Regions from separate parts of the Homo sapiens genome. Here region 2 is linked to region 1. Evidence: promoter capture Hi-C in 16 types of primary human blood cells and fetal thymus (Javierre and others, 2016). All regions are on one chromosome and are shown on one strand. Each heading gives the region's core, a stretch centred on a gene start or on the middle of the fragment in contact. The rest is flanking DNA. Distances are from core to core; before and after follow the strand shown. Region 1 holds the start of RMI2 (RecQ mediated genome instability 2). Region 2 overlaps CLEC16A (C-type lectin domain containing 16A).

What was found. Contacts are between HindIII fragments. The CHiCAGO score rates a contact against its expected background, and 5 or more counts as called.
Region 2: a fragment that was not itself captured here is called in contact with the fragment with the promoter of RMI2 in region 1 in 1 of 17 cell types (activated CD4 T cells); the score reaches 6.0 in activated CD4 T cells.

What each region holds. Positions count from the first base shown.
Region 1 is chr16:11,339,554-11,347,223 of GRCh38, reverse strand. RMI2 (RecQ mediated genome instability 2) reads right to left here and starts at 1,765. Exons shown (of 2, transcript NM_152308.3): 1 at 1,458-1,765. The coding sequence starts at 1,752. All of the region lies in intron 1 of LOC105371082 (a long non-coding RNA gene), which reads right to left. It overlaps LOC105371083 (a long non-coding RNA gene), which reads left to right and starts at 2,012. Exons shown (of 2, transcript NR_135174.1): 1 at 2,012-2,111; 2 at 4,801-5,415. RefSeq lists silencers at 1,437-1,516, 1,537-1,696. The HindIII fragment of the contact is 15,776 bases long and covers 1-7,670 here.
Region 2 is chr16:11,147,879-11,154,994 of GRCh38, reverse strand. All of the region lies in intron 22 of CLEC16A (C-type lectin domain containing 16A), which reads right to left. Among named protein-coding and RNA genes, the nearest start is that of SOCS1, 100 kb to the left of the region's middle. The HindIII fragment of the contact is 5,148 bases long and covers 1-4,575 here.

The sequences.
Region 1 (7,670 bases), core at 516-3,015:
GCCACTCAGCACCTTGCACATCCTCATGGCTCCCCAAAGATCAGCGATCCTCTGCGACACTTGCTCACTGCCTGTCTCCCAGCAGACTCTATCTAGGTCTCGGCTGCAGCCCAACACTGCACATGAGGGGCTGATGTACAACACGTGCTCAACTGACATCCCAGGGAACAAGTGAGATGGATGCCCATTGCCTATCACTCAAGACTATTGGTTCTTGGAGCACTTATGTGTCAGGAACTGGGCCAGATGCTGAGGATACAGTTGTCAGGACCACACAGCTCTGGCCCTCCAGTAGCTTGGGCTGGCCCAGTGGTTCTCAAAGTATGGCCCCCAAACCAGGCGTGGTGGTACAGGCCTGTAGTCCCAGCTACCCAAGGAGGCTGACGCAGGAGGATTGCTTGAGCTCAGGGCCAGCCTGGGCAACACGGTGAGTCCCCTATCTCAAATAAATAAAACATTTAAAAAGTCGAAAGTATGGTCCCCAGACCAGCAGCATCAGCATCACCTGGGAGCTGGTTAGAAATGCAAATTTCCAGCCCCACCTGGACCTCCTGACTCACAAACCCTGAGGGTGGAGCCCCAGCCATCCCAGCTTTACCAAGCCCTCCAGGAGAGACTGATGCTGGCTCAAGTTTGAGCATCAGTGGTTTAAGAGAGGAAGCAGGCAGGGCGCAGCGGCTCATGTCTGTAATCCCAGCACTTTGGGAGGCCGAGATGAGCAGATCACTTGAGGCCAGGAGTTCGAGACCAGCCTGGCCAACATGGCAAAACCCAGTCTCTGCTAAAAAATACAAAAATTAGCCGGGTGTGGTGGCACATGCCTGTAATCCCAGCTACTCGGGAGGCTGAAGCATGAGAATCGCTTGAATTCGGGAGGTGGAGGCTGCAGTAAGCTGAGGTCGCGCCACTGCACCCCATCCTGGGCGACAGAGTGAGACTCCGTCTCAAAAAAAAAAAAAAAAAAAAAAGAGAGGAGGCAAACATGAGTGAGCTACAGCCCAAGACAGTTCAATTAAGGAGAAGTACAGGAGGGTCTCCCGTTCCTAGGGGCTAGGGAGGACTTCCCTGAGAAAGGCACATTTGAGCTGAGACGTTAAGGATGAGCAGAAGTTTCCCAGGACAGTATTTCCCAAAACAAGGATATCAACTGGGAGAGGGGGCTTGTGACAAACGAAGGTGCCGGAGTCCCTCCCCAGAAGATTCCCACTAGGGGTGGGAGAGTCCCAGGAATCTGTATTTGTAAAAGGGACGGCAGGTGATGCTTATCATCAGATCAACTTCACCAAGGAGGGACCGGAGCAAGGGTACCCAAGCGGGGACCCGCAGGGGCAGAGGCCCGGAGGAGGGCCAGACCCGCCCCGCCCCCGTTCGAGTGTCAACAACAAGATCGAATCTGGCCTCGGCAACTTCTCGGCGGGCAGCAGGGAAGAGGGCGCCCGGTAAGGCCCGGGCATTACCTGGGACTAGACAGGGCCGCCCGCGCGGCACCCGCTCCAGGCCGCGGACCGAGAAGTCCCCGCTCGGGTCCCTCAGCCGAGCCTCGCCGCGGTCCGCCATCACTACCCTGCCCTGCATCCACACGGCCGCCAGGTCCAGCGGCCCGCGGCCCGCCGCCGCCCGTGACAGCCGCCACGCGCCCGGGCCGCCCTCCGCGTCGCGCCGCAGCTGCTCCGCCAGCACCTTGAGTGGCGGCGACCTCGGAAGCCGCACCCCCGCGGGGCCGCCTGAGAACGAGTCCGCAGCCGCCGCCATTCCGCCTCGCCGCACCCTTCCGCCCCGCCTCCGCTTTCCCGCCAACTTTGAGAAGCAGCGGGGCCCGGCCCTCAGCCACCAATCAGGAGCGCGCTGGCAGAGCCGGCCAATGGTCGACGTCAGAAGGCGGGACCGCCGGGCGAAGAGGCCCTCTCTAGCAGCCAGGAGTGCGCATGCGTAGATAAAAGTAAATAAACGCCCTCAAGTTAGGAATGAACGGAGGAAATGGGTTAAACGAGAATAAATAATTGAAGGCAGAGAGGTAAAGAACTTCCTCTTTCAACGCATCTCAAAATTTGGCGTGGATGCAGATCACCTACAGAGTATGATTATTCATCTTTACATTGCCTTGTTTTGAGGTTAGTAAATACTGAAACGAATTAAGAGTCCGTGTTTATTGGGAGTGAGCAAGAATCCAGTCAGGAGATAAGGCTGGGGAGGGAGACGGGGAGAGCTGGCAAACTTGCCTTTTCTTTTATTATTATTTTCAGTTATATTTTAATAGCATCAAATAATTTTAAGGTTAATAAAATATATTGCTATTTTTCAGACAAGAAATGCACATTTATTGTAAAAAAAATAGGGGAAAAATGTAGAACAAGAAAATAATTGTAAAAGCCGCTTATAGATACCCACTGTTAATTTTGGGGTATATTAGCCTTTAGGCTTTAAAATATGTGTGTGTATTTTTTTTGAGACAGGGTCTCACTCTGTTGCCCAGGATGGAGTGCAGTGGCACAGTGACGGCTCACTACAACGTTCACCTCCCGGGCATAGGTGATTCTCCTACCTCAGCCTCCCAAGTATCTCGGACTACAGGCGTGCACCACCACGTCCAGCTAATTTTTGTATTTTTTGTAGAGACAGGGTCTTACCATGTTGCCCAAGGTGGTCTGGAACTCCTGGGATCACGCAATCCTGCCTCCTTGGCCTCCCAAAGTGCTGGGATTACAGGCGTGAGCCACCATGCCTGGCCTATTACTGATATACAAATAGTGTTTTGTATATTGTTTTCACTTAATAATGAACATCTTTCTGTATCAGCAAATATCCATCTGCTTCCTCTTGAATGACTGCATAATACTCGATTTGTCTTATCACATATTAAACCAATATCCTACAGTTGGACATTAAGGCTATTTCCAATTTTTCACTTTATAAATATATCCACTGTGGACCTACTTAAAAGATAAATCTTTTTTATTTATTTATTTATTTATTTTTTTGAGACGGAGTCTCACTCTGTCACCCAGGCTGGAGTGCAGTGGCGCCATCTGGGCTCACTACAAGCTCCGCCTCCCAGGTTCCCGCCATTCTCCTGCCTCAGCCTCCCGAGTAGCTGAGACTACAGGTGCCTGCCACCACGCCCAGCTAATTTTTTGTACTTTGTTTTAGTAGAGACGAGGTTTCACCGTGTTAGCCAGGATGGTCTCGATCTCCTGACCTCGTGATCCACCCGTAAAAGCTAAATCTTTTTGTGCATCCTTCAAATAAAATTCCCAGGAATCTCTCCCTAAAAATTGGATGTCCCCAGTCAGCAAAGTCCACAGATCCTAAATCAGGCAATCCTTAAAGTCAAGGTCAGTTCTTAAGAGAAACTTTGAGTTCCCAGGGCCTCCTGCAGTACCAGGCATTCAGAGAGTATTCAGCAAGAGCTTGATTTTTTTTTTTTTTTTTTTTTGAGACGGAGTCTCGCTGTGTCACCCAGGCAGGAGTGCAGTTGTGCCATCTCAGCTCACTGCAACCTCCGCCTCCCAGGTTCAAGTGATTCTCCTGCCTCAGCCTCCTGAGTAGCTGGGACTACAGGTACACGCCACCCGCCTGGCTAATTTTTGTATTTTTTAGTAGAGACGGGGTTTCGTCATACTGGCCAGGCTAGTCTCAAACTCCTGACCTCGTGATCTGCCCGCTCAGCCTCCCAAAGTGCTGGGATTACAGGCGTCAGCCACCGCACCCGGCCAAGAGCTTCATTTTTATAAAATTGAGCCAGGTCCTATTGTAAGAACTTTGTAGGAAGTATCCCATGTACCCCCACAGACCCTGAAAAGACTGTTCCACACAGGTGAGGAAACTGAGGCTTAAGGAAGCTAGAGGGCTGGCCCATAGACTCTCAGTAGCCTCTATGAGGTTTTGGCCTCTACACCTAATATGGTTTGGCTGTGTCCCCACCCAAATCTCATGTTGAATTGTACTTCCCATAATCCCCACATATCGTGGGAAGGACCCCGTGGTAGGTAATTGAATCATGGGGGCGGATACTCCCATGCTGTTCTCGTGATAGTGAGTGAGTTCTCACAAGATCTGATGGTTTTATAAGGTGCTTTTCCCCCTTTGCTCGGCACTACTTCTTCCTGCTGCCACATAAAGAAGGACGTTTGCTTCCCTTTCTGCCATGATTGTAAGTTTCCTGAGGCCTCCCAGCCCTGCGGAACTGGAGTTAATTAAACCTCTTTCCTTTATAAATTACCCAGTCTTGGACAGTTCTTTATAGCAGTGTGAGAACAGACTAATACAACACCTCAACCCTGACCTATGAAGTAACCAGGCTCCTAGGCTGAGAAAGGAGCAGGAACATTAACCAAGAGAGAATCCAACCCGTTCATGCCTGGTGGGTCCTCACTGACCTTCCCCCGAGGTACCTTAAGGACAGAGAAGTGACGGAGAAGGGAGTTAGCGTGAAGGGAGAAGCCCCCAGGCTTCTTGTATGAGCCTGGGAATCCCCCATCATTCCCTTGGCCTCCAGATTCCCTGCACCTGCTCCCACAAGCCCAACACCATGTTGCTGGCAGAGTGATCTTTTCAAAACACAAGTCTTAGCATGTCAGCACCGGGTTTATAACACCTTGATGGTGTAATCCACACATCTGGCATGTGAGCATTCCAGGCAGAGGGAACTGCACATGGAGGGGCCAGACAGGGGAGACAAAGCAAGAAGCATGTAGCAAACTGCCAGTAGTTAAGGATGGCTGGGACACAGAGTAGAAATGGAGGACTGGGGATAGATGAGTCTGGCTCTACATAACCTCATGTCTTATCCCCATTTTACAGATGATGAAACTGAGGTTCAAGCCAATGACAAGCCTGAAGCCACATGGCTAGTGAGTGGCAGAGTCAGAACTCAAACCCAAATCCACCTGACCCCAAACTTCATGTATCTTGAACTACAGGCTCCATCTCACTGTTCACACTCTCACCCACCTCCACCCATCAAAGGTGCCTCTAGACCTTTGCTTGTGTTGTTTGTTCTCTGCCTGACATGCCTCCCCCTCAGTCGCTCTCAGTTGAAACCTGGCTTAGTCATCAAGTGCCTGCTCAGCAGCAAGACCTCTTCTCTTCACAGAGCCTTTGTTGAGCCCCACCACTGGAATTAACCTCTTCCTTCCAGACCAGTTTGGTGGTGCCCCTAATCCACAGTTTCCCAACCTCAGCCCTACTGACACTGGGGCTGGATAATCTTTGTCGTGGGGGCTGTCGTGTGCACTGCAGGATATGGAGCAGTACCCCTGCTTTCCACCCACGAGATGCCATGGCACCCTCCTCAAGTTGCAACAACCAAAATATGTCTTCAGACATTGCCACTGTCCCCTAGGGTACTAAATCACCTCTATGGAGAACCACTGTCCTAAGCTACAATACTCACTGCCCTCTGTTTTGAGCCATAAATAGTTGTGTCTGTGTCTATCTTACCAGTAAAGCCTGGGTTCTCAAACTAAGTTGTCAGCAGCAGACAGACAGGTAACCCTGGTGTAGCAGGGGCAAACTGGCCTTCTGATGTCCCGGCAACAGGGGTCCATCACACTCAGCCGGTGGTTGTCGTGCAGGACTGTGGGCCCATTGTTGCTAGATCTGATTTTTCAAGACATTTTCTTTTTTTCGTTTGTTTTTGTTTTGTTTTAGATGGAGTCTAACTCTGTTGCCCAGGCTGTAGTGCAATGGCACGATCTCAACTCACCACAACTTCCACCTCCCAGGTTTAAGTGATTCTCCTGCCTCAGCCTTACAAGTAGCTGGGATTACAGGTGCCCGCCACCACGCCCGGCCAATTTTGTGTATTTTTAGTAGAGATGGGGTTTCACCATGTTGGCCAGGCTAGTCTCGAACTCCCTACCTCAGATGATCCACCTGCCTTGGCCTCCCAAAGTGCTGGGATTACGGGCGTGAGCCACCGCGCCCAGCTCAAGACATTTTCATGTATAATTTCCATGTTTAAAAAAAAAATGCTGGCAAACAATTCAATTCTGAAACAAAGGAACAAAAACAAACCATGTGCCCCAGAAAGTCATCCATGGACTGACTCTGGCCCGTGGGCTTCCAATCTGCAAACTCTCTCTAGAACGTGACCTCTGCTTCAGGCACCAAGGCAGCCTGCATGTTCACTAACGTGCAGGTCCTTAAATCTCCTGCAAAATAGCCAAGGGGCTGTAGTGTTCCACCAGCTCCAAGAGTTGCAAAATCAGCATTTTAAATTACAGTCATGAGCAGACAAGTGGGGTCTGTTGACACATGTTGGGTAAGCCTCCCCTCTAGGGAGGATTATCCCCCCTCCCCCACACCACAATCCATCACCCTCACACTCAGGCCTGAAGCAACCCCCTGTGCCAGCCTCCCCGAGCTCCAGCTTCCCAGTGAGATCAAAGATCCTTGGAAGGCGGTTTCCTGCCACCTGCACCAGTGAGGACAAAGGTAAGGTGAGAGGAATTGTAGGCCTTGGCTTTATCCTCAATCTGCTCGTTCACCAGTTCCCAGGCCAATCAGGCCAAAAATGCTTCTGGTTTCCAGAAACAACCCTACTACACTAAGAAAAGGGGTTGTTCTGGGTGGGGCGTGGTGGCTCACGCCTGTAATCCCAGCACTTTAGGAGGCCAAGGTGGGTGGATCATCTGAGGCCAGAAGTTCGAGACCAGGCTGGCCAACATGGTGAAACCCTGTCTCCGGTAAAAATATAAAGATTAGCTGGGCATGATGGCACGTGCCTGTAATTCCAGCTACTTGGGAGGCTGAGGCAGGAGAATCACTTGAACCCAAGAGGCAGAGGTTGCAGTGAGCTGAGATCATGCCACTGCACTCCAGCCTGGGCGACAAGAATGAAACTCGGTCTTGAAGGAAAAAATAAAATAAAATAAAATAAAATGGGTTGTTCTGGAAGGGTATCCATACAGTGACATCTTCAAAATAGCAAAAGCTGTTATTAGCTGAGCCCTTACTATGTGCCAAGCACCATGCCAGTCACTTCATGTGCAGAGACTCAGTTATTCCTCATGACAACCCTAAGAAGTAGATACTTTTCTTAAGCCCAATTTAGAGATGAGGACATTGAGGCTTGGACAGGTGATGTGACCTACCCCAGACCACACAGCTAGGAGAAGGTAGAGCCAGGAACCCATCCCCACCCTGGGAACCCTTATAAAGGGTTCCTCTTAGGTGTCTCAGTAATCAGGATGGTGGTTCTTAACATAACGTCTTACCCACTATCCTGGATTGGCACCGTGGAAGAATACTCTGGGGAATTTTTTTTTTGGAAATACAGGTTTTATGAAAACACACACATACACGCACACAAATTTTGAACTGTATTTAATGAAATGCCTGCCAAAGTATGCAAAGGGGCAGTGGATGGATGTCTCTTACTTACTTTGGATGCAACTTACTTTGAAATGCAACAAGAAATAAGGTGGATGGCTGGGCGTGGTGGCTCACGCCTGTAATCCCAGCACTTTGGGAGGCCAAGGCAGGTGGATCACAAGGTCAGGAGATTGAGACCATCCTGGCTAACACGGTGAAACCCTGTCTCTACTAAAAAATACAAAAAATTAGCCAGGCGTGGTGACGAGCACCTGTAGTCCCAGCTACTCTGGAGGCTGAGGCAGGAGAATGGCGTGAACCCGGAAGGCGGAGCTTGCAGTGAGCTGAGACGGCGC
Region 2 (7,116 bases), core at 752-3,251, 190 kb after region 1:
CACACCACCACACCTGGGTAATTTTTCTGTTTTTTGTAGTGGTGGGTTTTATTTATTTATTTATTTTTGAGATGGAGTCCCGCTCTGTTGCCCAGACTGGAGTGCAATGGCACGATCTCAGCTCACTACAACCTCCGACTCCCAGGTTCAAGTGATTCTCTTACCTCAGCCTCCCAAGTAGCTGGGATTATAGGCAACTGCCACCACACCTGTCTAATTTTTTTGTATTTTTAGTAGAAATGGGGTTTCACCATGTTGGTCAGGCTGGTCTCGAACTCCTGACCTCAGGTGATCCGCCCACCTCAGCCTCCCAAAGTGCTGGGATTACAGATGTGAGCCCCCACGCCTGTCCTGGGACTTTCATTTTCGTAAGTGTCTTTAGACAAAGGGGTATGTAGCAAAAGAAATGGCCCAGCTCTTTGGAGAAAAGAACGCAACACAAAACAAAAGTCTTCCTCACATTAGCTGTTATGACTGAAGATTTTAGGAGTTAACAAAGTGAGACATGAGAGAGCCTTTCTAAAGGAACTTTAAATATCTAGGTTTAAAGGATTTATATGAAAATCGTTTACGAGAAAAATGAAGTTATTTTCATCTAGATTCTTAAAAACCTCATGTTACACTGCATTCAAGACACATGACTATTCTATTTGCATTTCTTTGATAGAGAGTTGAATGGATGAGCTTGAACCATATGCAACTGCCAATATTCAACTAACTTGACCTACAGAAACAGCCATTTCATATGGTTCAATCTACTCTAAGTCCATCCCTCTTAAAGATCCCTACCAGAATAATTCATGGAGGATGGGGACGGAGGGAACAGCCAGCAGTGTATTCAAACAAATAAATGGCTTTCCCCAATTCTCCATTTCTCTTTGCCCTGTCTGCGCATGTGTGTGCAGGAGTGTGCGTGTGTACACACCTGTGTGTGTTCCTCTCTCCAGCTACATTCATCCTTTCATTTCCAAAATCGGTAGCTTCAACAAAATGCTTAGAAATAAGGTTGGCACTTATGGGGAGGTGTGTGTCTTCTTGACAGATGACCCACAAAAAGGGGACTTATTAGGAACCAGAAGGGCTTCTCAAATGGGCTAGGTTGCTCTCTTTTCCCTTTGTTCCTCCTCACAAATGCTGAGCTAATGTGTCCAACATTAAAAATCACCCTAGCTATTATGCATTTGTAGTTTTGACTTATTTTTTTAGTATTATTAATATTTCATCATAAAAGTATTGATTTCCTTTAACTAAGAGACTTTAAAGTTTACTGTATTCTTAAGCATGATTTTATTATGTCTTGGGGTCAGATGTTTTTCCCTCCCCCAGAAGGAATGCTTTTCCTTTTCTATAATGTGCGTCAAGAAGAAAGGAGGAATTGATTCACAGAATTCTGCATTACAGGCAACTTTTAAGGAACGTATCTAGTATGTATACTTAGAGTGACGTTTCTTAAACACAACTGTACGTTTCATTGTTTAGCCTTTTTAATCTGTTAGAGGTAAGAACCAAAGCACAACATTTATGTTAAAATATGAGACAGTTTCAAAGAAGCAAATCTGGGAAAATTAAGACAACTCTGGACATGACCCTAAAGCTGTCAACTCCTCACAAGTGCTCCAGGGGTCATAAAAACCTTAGTTTCTATGTTGTCATCCTCTTCCTTCAAGAAAGGCAACAGAAAACGAGAAGGAGTCCTGCTGGCACGGGGACTACCTAGAAAAGGCACCATTTCCCTTTCTATGTAAATCGCTGGTGTCAGATGCCAATTGCACAGTTGGGGAAGGAAGGCTCCGTTTTACAGAACCCATCCAGGAAGCAGGCGGAGGGCAGTAACTGGCAAACAAACACAGCGCTCTGAAATGTTTAAATATTGAACATCCTTTCTCCTTCCTCTACATTTATTATTAACTTGGGCCCACATCACTATGTGCATTGACTTCATTTCTTCCCAAGAACCCAAGACACAATGGACAATGCTCAGAGGCTGCGGGGTCGGGGTGGAGTGGAGATTTGGGTTTCTTTCTTCATACCCTCGCTGGAGATCCTTTCCAGTCAGCCCCACGGTTTTAGAGCCATGAATTCCTGGAAGCGTCTCAGCCTTTCAATGACCCCTGGCGCCCGAACGCAGATGATTAGTGCCCCAAATATTGACAGACTGGACTTTCTTCCCCTTTGACACAGGGGAGCAGTGTCAGAGGGAGGCTGGAGGAAAGATGCCGTCACCACCTGACTGGCGAGATTGTGGGAACGTCATTAGGACAGGTGCTCTATTATTTGGGACCACAGTGGTGCCCTTAGCTTTGACCAGGTAGAAACAATGCTCAGGATGCTGTGTGAATGCTACAGGGGACCTGGTTAAAAACAAACAAAACAACCCTATCTACAGACACCAGTAACTGATGTCTTTTGCTCAGCTTCTAGACAACAGAGGGGATTGGCACTGGCCCTGCTCTGACAGGTGCAACCCACCAGATGTCAATGTCCTGGACCAGCAGCTGAGCAAACACAGAGCTTGGGCCCCCCGTCATTCCTCATGAAGATGAACATTTGGGATCAGAAATAGAAACCCCAAATCTCTCCAGAAAACAAGGCAGCACCTTTTCCTGGGAACAGATAAGGGTAGCAGGAGGACCATCTGTCAGACCCATGCAGACACCAGCCGCCCGCCTGCAGAGGGAAGATCTTGTGGGTGTGCTAGCAGCATGAGCTGGTTATGAGCACTCGTTTTTCCTGGGCTTTTAGCTGTTCAAGTGAAATTGTCCCAGATGACCGGCCTAAGGCTTCCACTTTCTTTTAAAAGACAGCACTACATTTGAGATCGATGTTTTCCCCTGAAATGCAGGCTAAATTTATCCTTCCGCGCATCTTGCTCTCTGGTCTCTGTGCTAAGCTGGCCCTTGCTGTGCTGAGTTAGGCATCTGCTGTTCAATGCTGGTTCCTAGCCGGCAGTACTCAAGCACCTAGTTCTATCCTTTTGCTCATCACACACACAAAACCCCCTGGTTCTCTGAGAGATTCCTTTGCTGCCTCATTCTCTGTAGTTCCGTTAATTAAGCTCTCACTTCCCGGGTTCCTCACCCGTCTCCAGCTCTCAGAACTACCCTAAAAAGCTATCAAAAGTTGGCTCCATTTGAAAGGCTCCAGAGAGCCCCTTCCCCAGCCGGCCCCCGCCCCCCGAAAGTGGCTGAGTACTCATTACTTGATTGCCTTTTGCAACAGTGAGCTGGTGCAGGCTGCCATGAGCTTAACGGACTGAACTAAATCAGAGAAGTCGCTACTCTCTCCTGGGCTCCCTTGGCAAGCTGCCCTGTGAGTGAAATTGCACTGATTGATTTAATGCCTGAGGCCCAGAGGGCCCAGTATTTCTGAAATCTCTATTCATCTATACAGATGCAAGAGTACATGCCCCAAACAGACATTTTGAGCTACGGTTTCTACTTTGCTATTAACCCATAGACTCTCTCTCTTTTTGGCAGGAATGAGAAATAAAAAAGTGACTTGATAGAAACAATGCCTGTGCACATGCTGGCAGAGGCGCACACATATGTGCAGAGGACTTCAGCCTGGAGCACTGGGCAGGAGTCATCTGAGAGCCCAGGTGAATGAAGACAAGGGCCCAGGTGTGACCAGGTGGGCATCCCCCTACTCTGCTTTCTGGAAGGCAATTTGGCAAGGTGCCACCCAGAGCCTGACAAATGGACAGTCCCCCTGACTCTAAGGAATGGTTTCTGGAGGAATAATTGGAAATGTAGACCAAGATTTCTGAATAAGGATGTTTGTCATAGGGTGCTTCATAAGGTAGTAGAAACAACGTAAGTGGCCAGTATAAGCGGATTAAGTAAAATCTGGCAAATTCAGACTGTTTTGTGTTTCACTGTGTCCCCTTCAAATTCTTAGGTTGAAGTCCTAACCTCTAGTACCTCAGACTCAGAATGTGACCTCGTTTGGAAATGGGGTCATTTTACAGATGCAATTAGTTAAAATGAGGTCATTAGGTTTGGTCCTAATCCAATATGTCTGTGCCTCCTAAAAAATGAAAATTTGGACGCAGATTTTCACACAGGTAGAACATCACGTGAAGATGAAGGCAAGACTGGGGTGATACTTCTATGAGCCAAAAAGTAGCAAAGATTGCCAGCAAAACACCAGAAGCCAAGGAGGGAGGCCTGGACCAGAGTCCTCCTCACACCCCTCAGAGGAAACCAGCCCTGCCAATACCTTGATTTTGCACTTCTACCCTCCAGACCTGTGAGACAATCAATTTCTGCTGTTTATGCCACCCAGTTTGTGGGACTTTGTTATGGCCACCTCAGGAAACTAACACTCAGACAATGGACTATTATGCAGTCATCAAGAATGAAGTTTAGAAGAGGCATTTTACAGTACAGGGAAGTGCTTCTGACATGATGGCAATGTTGTGAAAACAAAACCTTGTGACTTGGCAGTTCTGCTTCTTGTACTGCACGTGCACACAGAGAGAGGTGTGCCCAAGGATGCCCACTGCAACGCTGCCCGGGATAGAAAAAGACTAGGATGACTGAATCACTCAGCCAAAGAAACGCAAGTAGCCAAGCTTTGGAATACTATGCAGCCGTGAAAAGGAATGTGTGAAATCTGTAAGTGCTAACACAGATTCCTGATTTACAGTGGTGTCTGAAAAGAGCAAGGTGCAGCAGGGTATACAGAATTATGATTTTATTTAAGGGAAGCCCAAACCTTAACACAATTACAGATCCATACTTAACTCCTTATCCTAAACCTCTGTGGCCAGATATGTCTTGGAATTTAGAATCTTTAGGAGGTAAAAGGCCATGTAGGGCACACATAGGTATTACGTTACACTGTCAGCTGGGTCGTGAGCAGCTAAAACCAAACACTGAATTTTTGCAGAAACGAAAACATAAACTCACAATTACTGGCATCAATGACTCTAATAAACCCGCCCATAAATACCTGAAGGCAGGTTTTGGTTTTGCCATCATACGAGTTAGGAAAAATATTTTGATTTTCAGAGCTGTTTGGGTTTCAGAATTGCAGAGAAGGGGTGGTGGCTCTGTTCTGTTCATCAGCTCTGGCACATGTATGAAATGCAACTGCACAGAGAAGGGTCTGGAAAAATAAAAATAAGGCAAATGATGACTGAGGAAGGGTGGTAACTGATGGGGTCTTAAGTCGCACCTGCAATGTTGCAATTTTTTTTTTTTTTTTAAGACAGTCTCACTTTGTCACCCAGGCTGGAGTGAACTGGTGTGATCTTGGCTCACTGCAACCTCTGCCTCCCAGGTTCAAGCCATTCTCATGTCTCAGCTTCCCAAGTAGCTGGGATTACCGGTGGGCACCATCATGCCCAGCTATTTATATTTTTAGTGGAGATGGGGTTTTGCCATGTTGCTCAGGCTGGTCTTGAACTCTTGAGCTCAGGCAATCTGCCTGCCTCAGCCTCCCAAAGTGTTGAGATTACAGGCATGAGCCACTGTGCCCAGCCTGATTTTTTCAAAAATCAACAATCAACTCATGTATTTTTTTTTTTAAATGAGAGAAAGAGACAAAACAGGGAAGACAGAAGTGGAAAATAAACAGAAATATTAACAATGCTTTCTTCTGGGTTGATAGGATTGTGATTTCTTCTTCCTGTAGCTTCTCAGTTTTCATTTATAATATTCTACGTTCATGTATTAATGCACAAAAATTAATACAACGGGTCTGCAGTAATAGCAAAACAGCTGACCGGTTCCATCCATTCCTGTTATCAGCTCATCCCCAGGGCCTCAGTGACCCCATGGGGTCAAGTCCCGCTGCCTGCCTGACTCACCACCACTGGTGACTTGTGCTCCGACAGCCCCACACCTCCCTGGCTGTGAAGCCTGGCCCCTCCCCTGGCCTCTGCTAACATACTGGCCACTTTGATTCACCATCTCTCTTTCTCCCTGTCCTTTATTTTTCTGCCCTCTTTGGCCTTTGATTGCTTTTTGGGAGTTTATCATATTGAACTTGTATCCCTTTCCGGGAAACTCTATTAGTTTTTTCTTCCCTTTCACAATTAATAAATAATCATGAGAGCCCTTCTATGGATAGAAGTACATCCTGCCTCCTACACAGAACTGCTGGAGCTTCTCTTTTGTGGCTCTTCTGGGCCTGAGCTGAAGCGCACATCACCTGTCACAGGAGGGAGAGCATTCTGGTGCATCGCTGTGCTCGGAGAAAGGGTGCCAGCCGTTGGCTCATTATTTGAACTGCTCCTGGTCCTACAAGATGGCTGTGCTTTCCTGGCCATACAGGGGATGGAGCACTGGCCTGGGAGTCTAAAGGCTGGAGTATGGACAGGGAAACGGAGGCGCATAATATAAGCTAAGATGGTGGGCTTTGGTGGCAGACAGACATGGGTTCAAGCCACAGCCCTGATGCTGACTGGCTGTGTAATGGAAATTGTAGCCTTGAGCCTCCATTTCCCTGGCATAATATGGGGGAAATAATCCCTATGTCATACATCATTGTGAGGATTAAGTGAGAAGAGTACACACAACCTTGCTTGGCACAGTGTCTGATATGCAGTAATTGCTCAATAAACAGTACCTGTATTGTCAAGTTCTAGTGCCTCCAGACCTCCTCCACCAGGAGGTGGAGGTTTCTACCATACAAAAAGGCCACAACTAGCCCTAACTACATCCAAGACATAACATGTGGCATTTGAGATGACATTTTTAAAAGTCATTGGCATGAGTTGGACGTGGTTGCCGGCATACCATCTAGCAGCACCAGGAAATAAGTTCCGGAACAACAAACAGGTACTGGTCACCTGTTTTCCATCTCAAATCCACAACACGAACTACTCACCGCACTTCTAATGTTCACAGCAGTGATTCTAATTCTTTCTTTCCCAGAAATCATGAATCTGAGGTCAGACCACAATCAACAGAGATTTCTGGAAAGGTATGAAATGCAAACTTATCTCATAATTTACAGGAAAGAAAAGGAAACAGGAGGCTATTTTACCAGTAAGAACAGAGTTTTTTTCTCAAAGTCAAAAAGAAATGGAAAAAAGGCACGTTTTAGGGAAGAGAAAGGGTGCCAGGTGAGTCTGGATTGCATCAAGGTTTCCAAATTATTCCGGAATGT